2 separate regions of the Homo sapiens genome follow, and region 1 is linked to region 2. Evidence: promoter capture Hi-C in 16 types of primary human blood cells and fetal thymus (Javierre and others, 2016). All regions are on one chromosome and are shown on one strand. Each heading gives the region's core, a stretch centred on a gene start or on the middle of the fragment in contact. The rest is flanking DNA. Distances are from core to core; before and after follow the strand shown.

Region 1 (5,284 bases), core at 40-2,539, 1.1 Mb before region 2:
TGGACCATAGAGTGAGAACCTGTATCTAAAAAACAAAACAAAGCCAAACAAAAGATTGTTCCAGCAGCTGGTTAGTCTGGGAAGCCCATAGAAGTGTGGCGGTGGAGCTTATGAATGCATTAGGAGAGCTATAGGGATTGGGAAGTTTACGAGTTGAATTGTGTCCCCTAGGAGATTCGTTGAAGTCTTTTTTCTTTTTTCATTTATTTCATTTTATTTATTTATTTATATATTTATTTATTTATTTATTTTTCCTTTTACAAACCCTTGTGTCAAGGGCTGACTTTCAATAGATCTCAGCAGGTAGCTGCTCTGCTACGTATGAAACCCCTACCCAGAAGCAGGTGGGCTACGAATGGTTTAGCGTCAGGTTCCCCACGTGAGGGTTGAGGGTGCAGCTGCCTTTCCAGCAGCACCCCGTTTCCCAGGACGTGGGGCTCTCTGCGCCGCACCCCTGTCCCGGCCATGTGAGGACAGAATAACAGCCATGTGAGGACAGAGGCAAACATTCTGCTGCCACAAGCCAAGGAAGGCCGGGAGGCTGCCAGAAACTGGAAGAGACTAGAAAGGGCTTTCCACGAGAGGCTTGGAGGGAGCATGACCCTGCTGACGCCTTGGGTGACAGCTGGGAAAGAGCCTGGTGGCTGTAGCCAGACTTCTAGCCCCAAGTACTGGGGCAGAAGAAATTTCTGTTGTTCTAAGCCAAGTTTGTGGTACTTTGTTATGGCAGTCAAAGAAACTAGGGGATTTAGTTCTTTAGAACCTGAGATGTAAAGGCAGCTTTCCTTGAAAAGGATATTATTTATACTTATTTCAAAGTTTGTATTAAAACACCTGCAGTCTGGGTACAGTGGCTCAAGCCTGTAATTCTAGCACTTTGGGAGGCTGAGGCAGGCAGATTGCTTGAGTGCCAGAGTTCAAGACCAGCCTGGGCAATGCGGCGAAACCCCGTCTCTAAAAATTACAAAAATTCACAGGGTGTGGTGGCAGGCAACTGTAGTCTCAGATACTCAGGAGGTTTAGGTGGGAGGATCACCTGAGACCAGGAGGTGGAGGCTGCAGTGAGCTGTGACTGTGCCACTGTACTCTAGCCTTGGTGACAGAGTGGGACCCTGTCTCAAAAACCATTCTGCAGAATAGGGAAACACTGATAGAAGATTTACAAAGCACAGTGGACAGTGGACATGGTTCAATTCTGGAATGGTCTAGTCAAAGAGGAAGACCTATGAAACCACATGAGAAAAGAACACTGGGTAACATTCACTGAAGGCTGAAGCGAATATTGAGGAGATGGTCTACACTATCCCAAGTGATTTATATGAAAGAATTTATTTAACCCTTTTAAACAATCCTTAGTTATGTATTATTATTATCTCCATGTTACAAATGAAGAAACAAGGTATGGAGAGGTTAAGCAACTTGCCGAAGGTTACTGTTAATAAGTAATAGGATGGGGATTTAAAACCAGGCAGTCTGGTTCCAGAGCTTCTGCTCCAAACCACGCCAGTGCTGGAGTTCTTTACCTGCACTTCAGCGTGGGGAGAGGGCAGAACATCTCCCACAGTGCCCTCCCCTTCCACTCCACTCATACCTGCAGTTGCTCTTTCCACAGCCACTGCCCTCAAACACTCTCTCTGCAAACATTCCCTGGTGCCATCTCTTCTTTTTCTTTTTGCTCAACTGATTTTTAAAAAATTGAGATAAAATTCACAAAACCTAAAATTAACCATTTTAAAGTGAAAAATTCAGTGTCATTTAACACATTCTTAATATTGTAGAACCATCACCTCTATCTAGTTCTGAAACATTTTATTCTCCCCAAATACAACCCCATGCCCATTAAGCAGTTACTCCTCATTCTCCCCTCCCTGAGCCCCTGGCAACCAACAATTTGCCACCTCTCTCTTTGGATTTAACTATTCTGGACACTTCCTATAAATGGAACCATACGATATGTGGCCTTTTGTGTCTTGTTTCTTTCAAGCAGCTTAATGTTTTTGAGGCTCATCCAGCATGTATCAGCACTTCCTTCCTTTTGATGACTGAATAATATTCCACGGTATGTAAAATACCACAGTTTGTTTATCCACTCATCTGTAGATGGGCTTTTGGGTTGTTTCTTGTTTTTGGCTATCATGGATAGTGCTGCTATAAACATGTGTGTACAAGTGTTTGTTTGAGTCCCTGTTTCCAGTTCTTTTTGGTATTTATGTGGGTATGGATTTGCTGTCATGCATTATTTTTCTGCTTAATTTTTGACCGGGCGACTCTTGTGTTTCTCATCTTTCCATACTGATTCCTTATCACACACACAGAAAAAACCCTGCTTGGAGGGTGGGGAAGCTGAAGGGCCTGAAGCAGGCCAAGGAGTAGGATCAGGGTCAAAAAAAAGCCTGCAACACACCCACATTAATCATCATTTACTTCACCTGTCACACTTAGTATGCGTGACTATTCTCAAGTTTGGGAATTAGGCCAAGTGTTTGCTCCTTAACACTGAATTGTAGAACTTTCAAGCTGGAAGAGACTGCAGAGATTTCCCAGTTTGGTGAGTTTTCAAACTTTCCTTGGCAGACTTCTCTCAGGCCTCTGGGGGAGGGCCCTGGGGTCCTCTCATCTCCCATTCTTTCCACCCCTTAACCATACTCTGGTTTTTATGTTTTACATTTTGGGTTTCTGGGTAAGATTTCACATGAAGAGCAGAGGAATGATATTTTAACATCTACTTTTCTCTTTTCTTTTCTTTTTCTAGGCAGGGTCTCACCTTGTTGCCTAGGCTGGAGTGCAGAGGCATGATCACAGCTCACTGCAGCCTCAACCTCCCCAGGCTCAGGTGATCCTCCTACATCAGCTCCTGAGTAGCTGGCACTACAGGTGTGTGCCACCATGCCTGGCTAATTTTTGTATTTTTTTGTAGAGATGGGGTTTCACTATGTTTTCCAGGGTGGTCTCGAACTCCTGGGCTCAAGTGATCTGCTTGCCTCAGCCTCCCAAAGTGCTAGGATTACAGGTGTGAGCCACCAAGCTGCCACTGGCCGAAATCTAATTTGTTGTTGTTCCTGGAACTTCCTTATACCCCTGGTTCCTTTATGCATTCAGTGAGTATGGCATTCTGTGTTCACTGCCTTAGAGAAAGGTGACAGAGAAAACAGAGGGACAAAGAAAGAAGGGTATTCTTGGGTTCTATGTTTCAGAAGCTCAGGCTTCAGAAAGAGCAGATTCCTGTGCGCAGACTAGAGATTTGGGAAGTGAGGAAGGGCAAGGGACTCTCAGAGCTGGAGGAGAGGTCAAGATGGAGAGGAAGAGAATTGGGAGGGAGGTCAGAGGGGCTGGGATGAGGGACCAGACTCCAGCAGGTGCAGAGTTGGCACCTAGAGGGTGTGATGCTCTGCTGGCTCAGCAGCCATTGATGAATGGCTCACTTATGCAGGCTGTCAAAAGAAGCCAAGACTCCCTTGCAGTGAGCGCTGCGTCCACCATAAGGAGGAGGTTGGTTAGCAGATTTCTTGTTGCTGTCTGGTGAGGACTTCCTCGTAGACAGCCATCTGCTGCATGCCCTAGCATGAGGACCTCCGAATCTGTGTCCTAATACTTTTCTCCTTCTTTTGACATATGCAGCCAGTGGCCTACTCAATTTCCACTCGCCTCGTTTCCCTTGCTTGTTATAGCTCCAATTTGCTTTGGGATGGTGTTGGGCCCATCAACAATTCAAAGTCATGTGGATAGTCTGGCCAATGCCTGTGAATGAAAGGTTTATATCTTCCACTCCATGAGGTTCTGGGAAAGCTACTGTTTTCCTAGGAAAATTAGGCAGACTCAGCGGGTGTGAGCCCTTTGCCTTCTCCTTTCTCCTCCTTCCTGCCTGAAATGGTGACATGATGCCTAAAGATGCCCCAGCCATCTTATGACCACTTGCAAAGATGACAGAGTGGGGAGGTAGCAGGAGCCTGTTCTGTGAGCAGCCCCATTAGGGCTGGCTTACCCAGTACTCGGTTTCCTGGTTACCTGAGAGAAATAAACCCCTCACTTAATCCACTATTTTTGCTTCTGAAACATGTACCTGAGCACAATTATGAAGTCCCCATGACTCTTCTTCTTCTTCTTTTTTTTTTTTTGATACAGCGTCTTGCTCTTGTCGCCCAGGCTGGAGTGCAATGGCACGATCTCAACTCACTGCAACCTCTGCCTCCTGGGTTCAAGCGATTCTCCTGCCTCAGCCTCCCAAGTAGCCGGGATTACAGGTGCCCACCACCATTTTTGTGTGTGTGTGTGTGTGTGTGTGTGTGTGTGTGTGTGTGTATTTGTGTGTATATATGTGTGTATGTGTATATATACGCACGTGTATGTACACACGTATATACACGTATATGTGTATATATATAAAAATATATAAATATATATACGTGTATATATAAAAATATATAAATATATACATATATGTGTATATATATGTGTATATATAATGTGTATATATACATGTGTGTGTATATATATATATATTTTAGTAGAGACAGGGTTTCACCCCGTTGCCCAGGTGGTCTTCAACTCTTGACCTCAGGTGATCTGCCTGCCTTGGCCTCCCAAAGTGCTGGGATTATAGGCGTGAGCCACCGCACCCGGCCCCATGACTCTTTTTTTTTTTTTAGTTTCTTTTTTTTTAAATTATTATTATACTTTAAGTTTTAGGGTACATGTGCACAACGTGCAGGTTTGTTACATATGTATACATGTGCCATGTTGGTGTGCTGCACCCATCAACTCGTCATTTAGCATTAGGTATATCTCCCGATGCTATCGACTCTTACTTTGTGTAGACAACCAGCATTGGAATGTCTGTCCTGCACTCATGAGCTCCGCCCACATGATTTTTGGGGGGCCTAGCCTCTAGAAACCTGGAGAGGTGGTGTAGAATGAAAGGCAAAACATTATAAACTTGAGTGAAGCCAAATGTAATCTGTTTACCATCTCCTTAGAGCCAGGACATTGGTGGAATATACCCCTTCCATTACAGAAGAAGCGGTTCACTTGAAAAGGTAAAATCCTCTACTCTAGTCCAACCCTCTCTCTGAGGTCGAGAAGTACAGAGTGACTTGCTCACGGTCCCACAGGTAATTGGTGGCTAACGTGATGGGAGAGCAGGTATCTCCCCACCTACGCCCCCCGGCTTTCTTCATGACCATGGTGGTTCAAGTGTTGAGCTTCTGCATATTTTGTTTTCTGCTAAGACGATTAGCTGAGTATCTGGCATGTCAAATTAGTGAAATCTGAGGGCTTTTGAATGAGA
Region 2 (4,777 bases), core at 1,671-4,170:
GGCAGTTTTCCTTTCTTCCTTTAAAGGGAGACTTTAAACCCAAATCACTACTTCTAAATCCCAGGAAACAGTTGCAGTTTTCAAATTAAAATGCAAAGTCCTGGAAATAATATTCTGTAATTGCTAATTTTTTTTTAAATTCAGTCTTTTGACTTCATTTATATTTTTGCTGCTATACATGAAACAAACGGAGACTGAAAAGTAATTTAAATGGACTGTTAGCCATTCTGGGCCTTGAAACAGCTTCTATTTAGAAAGACTGACTCACTGCCTAACAAAGATTCTCTGCTAGTCTCTAAGTTGACATTTTATAAATATCTAATCACCCTTTTTGGATGATTTTCCAATTACTGAAAACAGTGTCTATCACAATGAAGCAGTTCACTCGGAAAGCATCCAGTTCTGGTTCAAATTGAGAAATATTAGAACCCCAAAGATACACAGTTCAGGGGAAAGCTGTCACCGGGGAGGACAGGTATATAGTTCGGCCAAAAAACTTCCTTAAGGAGCACTGGTAGATTTATGCAAAAACCCAGAGGAGCAGAAGACAGAAACATTCTTTCTCCAGAATCCCAAAACAGTAACATTTCCTAGCAAATCCATGAATAAGACTCAGCAAAAAAAAAGGGCCTCCTTAACCATGTGCAGTTTTTTAGGCAGGCTCTTGAAATTTATTAGATGAAGTCCCTTTGCCCTGTTTTGCAACAAGAGGAGCAACAACGCTCATCTGAAATAAACAAGAGAACTGCTGCCTTTTGGTGTACAAAGAGCCAAAGTTCATCCTAACTGGCTGGGAGATAACTAATACCAACGGATTAAACCATCATTTGCCAAAGGGAAACACTGATAAGGCTGGGAGTTCTATTTTACAACCTGAGCACCCAAAATACTCATGTAGTCTGTACAGTTTCCAATTCTACATGCTCTCCAACCACAAAGAACGTATGGGGATCTGCTAGCACACACAGAGGCTCCCACACTGATTAAAAATGTCCATCTGCCGCTCGATGCCAAAGAGGTTTCCCAGTCCTAAATTAGCCTCAGCACAAAAAAGGGGGGGAGGGAGACTCAAACTCATAAAACTACCTAAAAGACCTTAAGATGATATAATTTGTCTTTGAAAAGACCATTCAATTAATTAGAAATTGACACGTTATTAAATGGCAAAGGGAGAGGACGTGGGGAACCAGAAGGGCCAGAAACAGCCGCACTCCCTGAGACCCCAGAGGGCACTGAGGCTGCAGACGAAATCTGGGGTGCTCAAGCTTCCACCTGGCCCGACAGAGCTCCTGGCGCCCAGGTGGAGGCAGCTGCGGACGAGAGGAGGCCAAGGAGGCAGTTCCCTTTAGAGGGCGCTCATTGGGCGACGTGGGGAAACAAGCTCCAGCCCCCGAAGCGCGACCAAAAGGAGAAATCAAGTTCCCACCGCCAGGGCGGGGGAGGGAAGCTGGGTGCCGGCAGGCGCTCCGCCGGAGACGAGACTCCTCCCGGCCCCAGAAGCGCCCCGCCAGGGCCAGAGAGGGCGAGCGTGGCGGGAGGGAAGCCTCTGTCCCCCAGCGGCCAGGCGACCCGAAGCCGAGCGCCGTGTCACACGTACCCCGCCTCGCCCTGCTTGCGGCACTCCCGTGTAACTCCTATGAAAATGTCCTCCCGTCCCTGACGCCCCGCGGTGCAACCTCCACCCCTCAACGAGGAGGGGGTCGCCGCAGGACTGGGAATCCAGTGGCCGGCGTCCCAGCATTTTCGGACGCGTTCCGTGCCTCCCCCAGTATCCCCTTGAGGGATCGCCTACTGCGATTCCACGTAGTGTCGGTTACCTCGCCCTAGCCGCAGGGAGCATCAAACAAAAGAACTTTTGCAAACTTTTCTCTCTGGACACTCGCGGGTCTCTTAAATCTGGCCCCCATCTCCCCAGAACTTGCATGCAGTCAAACAGGAAAGCTGGCGCGGGGGGGATGGTGTGCGGAGGAAGGGACCCCGAAGTTTCCAGGTCATCCCTGGTCTCGAGGAGCGCGCGGAGTGGAGCCGTTCCCTCGCGGGCCCGACCCAGGCTCCCCCCTCCTGCCACCCTTTCCCCTCCGTCCTTCCCAGACCACGCAGCAAGACCCGCCGAGGGCGAAGAAGTTGGGAGTGACTTCAGGGGCCTCTGCGGCTAGACCAAACCGCAATTCTCGGTGCCCCCATTCCCGCGGACCGCGGGGTAACGCCAGCGAGCAGCGCTTTTCTGAGGAAGGGAAGAGGGGGAAAGGGTGACCGGACGAGCGCATTTGTCCCAGCGGATCTCCGGTGTATACTTGGGGACTGGGGGTTCCCCAGGTGGCGCTCCCCTATTCCCTGCGGGCTCCTCTCGTAGCTTCAAACACCCTAAACGGCGCGCGCATCCTCCGCCTGGCCCACTCACCGACTCCGCCGACACGCAGGCCACCAAGCCCAAGGTGAGCAGGATCCACGCGCGCCGCATATTCCCCAGGGACCGGCTGCTCCCAGCCGCTGCTTGCAACCAGGGCAAAACGAAGCCTCCTGCCCAGCGCTCGGCGCAGCCCGCGCACACGAATCCGGAGCAGAGTACCGCAGCGATTGCGGCTCAGGCTCGGGGACTCGGGCTCGGGGCTCGGGGGCGCTCGCTTCCTCCTCCTGCGCCTGCTCCCGCCGCCCGCAGCTGCGCCCCGGGAACGCGGCGCCCTCTCACTTGTTGGTTTCTGCACTCCCGACACGGAGTTGGTGCTCCGGGAAGGCTGCTCTCTGAAGCTCTTCTTGCTCTGCTGTGGTTTTGCTCCTCCGCGGACTCCTTTCCCGTGCCGAGGTTCAGTTTCTGGTTTTAAGGAATAAATTCGCTGGCTTGAAAGGGAGCTACGGCAGAAGTTTAGGGGCAGAGCGGCGGGAGCGCGCGATCCGCGCGGCTGGAGCTCCGGGGGTATCTGGAGAGCAGCGCGTCCAAGCGGGGCCACTGGCTCCGCGGCTGCGCCCCTCCTCCTCCCGCGCCGCGCCTCCCTCCCCGGGTCCTCCTCCTTCTCCTCCTCTTCTTTTCCTCTGGCTCCCTCCCTCCTGAGCCTGCTTCTCCGGGCTCCCCTGGGCGACTGGGGAGAGGAGGCGGCAGTGTGACTCCCAGATAAACCCGGGAGAAATTCCTACAGGATTACACGCCGATTGGCAGCTCCGAGGACCAGTGGGCGCCGCGGCTCCGCGCTGTGGCTGCGCCGGCTCTGCTCACCGGCAAGCCAGGGCTCCTGCGTTTTCTCAGTCCTTTTCTTCCTTTCTCTCCCCACTTTTCCTCTCTCCTCTATGCTCTTTTCTTCCCCGTTGTCTTTTCTCTTTCCCTTCTTCACTTTCCCTTTTCTAGAGAACAATTAGTGAAGAAACGAGAGACGTATGTAGCTTTTCTGCCTTGAGAATTCGACCAGTAGAAAGAAACTGCTTTGTGAGTTGAGGGAAAAAAAAAGTGTAAGATGCTTTCAAGCAATGTGAAGTGTTCATAAATCGCCAGTTCATGAAAATTGCATTTTAAAAGAGAAGATAATTAATGTAATAAATATATAGTGAGAGTGTTTCCCATTCTCCCAAATCCTTCCGCACCCCCAAAAAAGGGACATGGAGGAAGGATCCTGTAAACCCAAAGTGCAACAGTTTGAAAGCTCCTAACTTCATTAAGGGCTTAAATACCATTTCTCCCTCACACACAGTTTATGCCACTAAGGCTTTTTATAGGCTCCATTTTAGCAGATAGGTGTTAACGTTTGGAAGCTACAAATAGGGTAATTTGATGAGAAGTTGGATAGAGACCCTGAATAATAACAGATTTAAGATAACTTCAAAGAAAAGAGGGATAAAGTAATTCTTAGTTTGAAGAAAATAATGAACATGTATTTCCTAAATGGAAGTAGCTGACATGAAATATTTTGTTACAATGTCTGTGGCATATTATAGAACATGGCAAATGCGTATTCCCTTCCAGTTTCTTTTTCTTACTGTCACAAATTTTACACACAAATCCCTTGCAGTTCGTGCCATCATTTTTCTCTCTGACTTATAGAGTAAATGAATTATGACGCCATTCTGCTCCTGGAATGCCCACTACAGGAAACCAGAGACTTTTCTGTCTGTTCACCATTGTATTCTCATTCCTGGTACATAAAGACACATGATAAATATTATCTTGAATAAATTTTGCTCTAAAGCTCAATTTATACCGTATAAGAGTTGTGAGCCTTTAAAATACACCAATGTAGATATATAGATATGAGGCCATGGTAATTTTTCAACTCAGTATTAGAATAAAATACAGTCATACCCTCAGTGAGAATTAAATGTCTTAGTAACCTATTACTGTAATAAATCTCAAAGAAAGAAATTTAACTGGAGAATTACAACTCAAACTTGGAGACACTTATTCCTTTGGTTTTGTGTGCCAGCTACCAAACCTACAAATGCTCATGAGCAAGTCTAAGGCATTGGCCAACAAAAAGGTAATATGGAGAAATAGAAGAGTAGGCAAAGGAGAAAGAAGAAAAAGAGCAATAGGCCAGAAGTTGTAACATCAGATGATGCTTCTGATTCCACAGACACTGTAGCTGGCATCTGTGCCAATGTGGGCTCCACTTAGCTTTTGAAAGAATGAACCACAGCCTTTTTTTTTTTTTTTTTTTTTTTTGAGACAGGGTCTCATTCTTGCCCAGGCTGGAGTGCAGTGGCCTGCACTGTAGCCTCTACCTCTCAGGCTCAAGCAGTCCTCCCACCTCAGCTTACCAAGTAGCTGGGACTACAGGCACAGGCCACCACA

The links. The method cuts DNA at HindIII sites, captures the fragments that hold promoters and counts their contacts. A CHiCAGO score of 5 or more calls a contact.
Region 1: a contact is called between a fragment that was not itself captured here and the fragment with the promoter of SDC2 in region 2, in 3 of 17 cell types (M0 macrophages, M2 macrophages and M1 macrophages). The highest score is 15.3, in M0 macrophages.

Annotation. Positions count from the first base shown.
Region 1 is chr8:97,560,686-97,565,969 of GRCh38, reverse strand. No RefSeq gene overlaps it. Among named protein-coding and RNA genes, the nearest start is that of MTDH, 81 kb to the left of the region's middle. The HindIII fragment of the contact is 8,862 bases long and covers 1-5,284 here.
Region 2 is chr8:96,491,956-96,496,732 of GRCh38, reverse strand. It overlaps SDC2 (syndecan 2), which reads right to left and starts at 2,920. Exons shown (of 5, transcript NM_002998.4): 1 at 2,402-2,920. The coding sequence starts at 2,461. The HindIII fragment of the contact is 13,490 bases long and covers 1,268-4,777 here.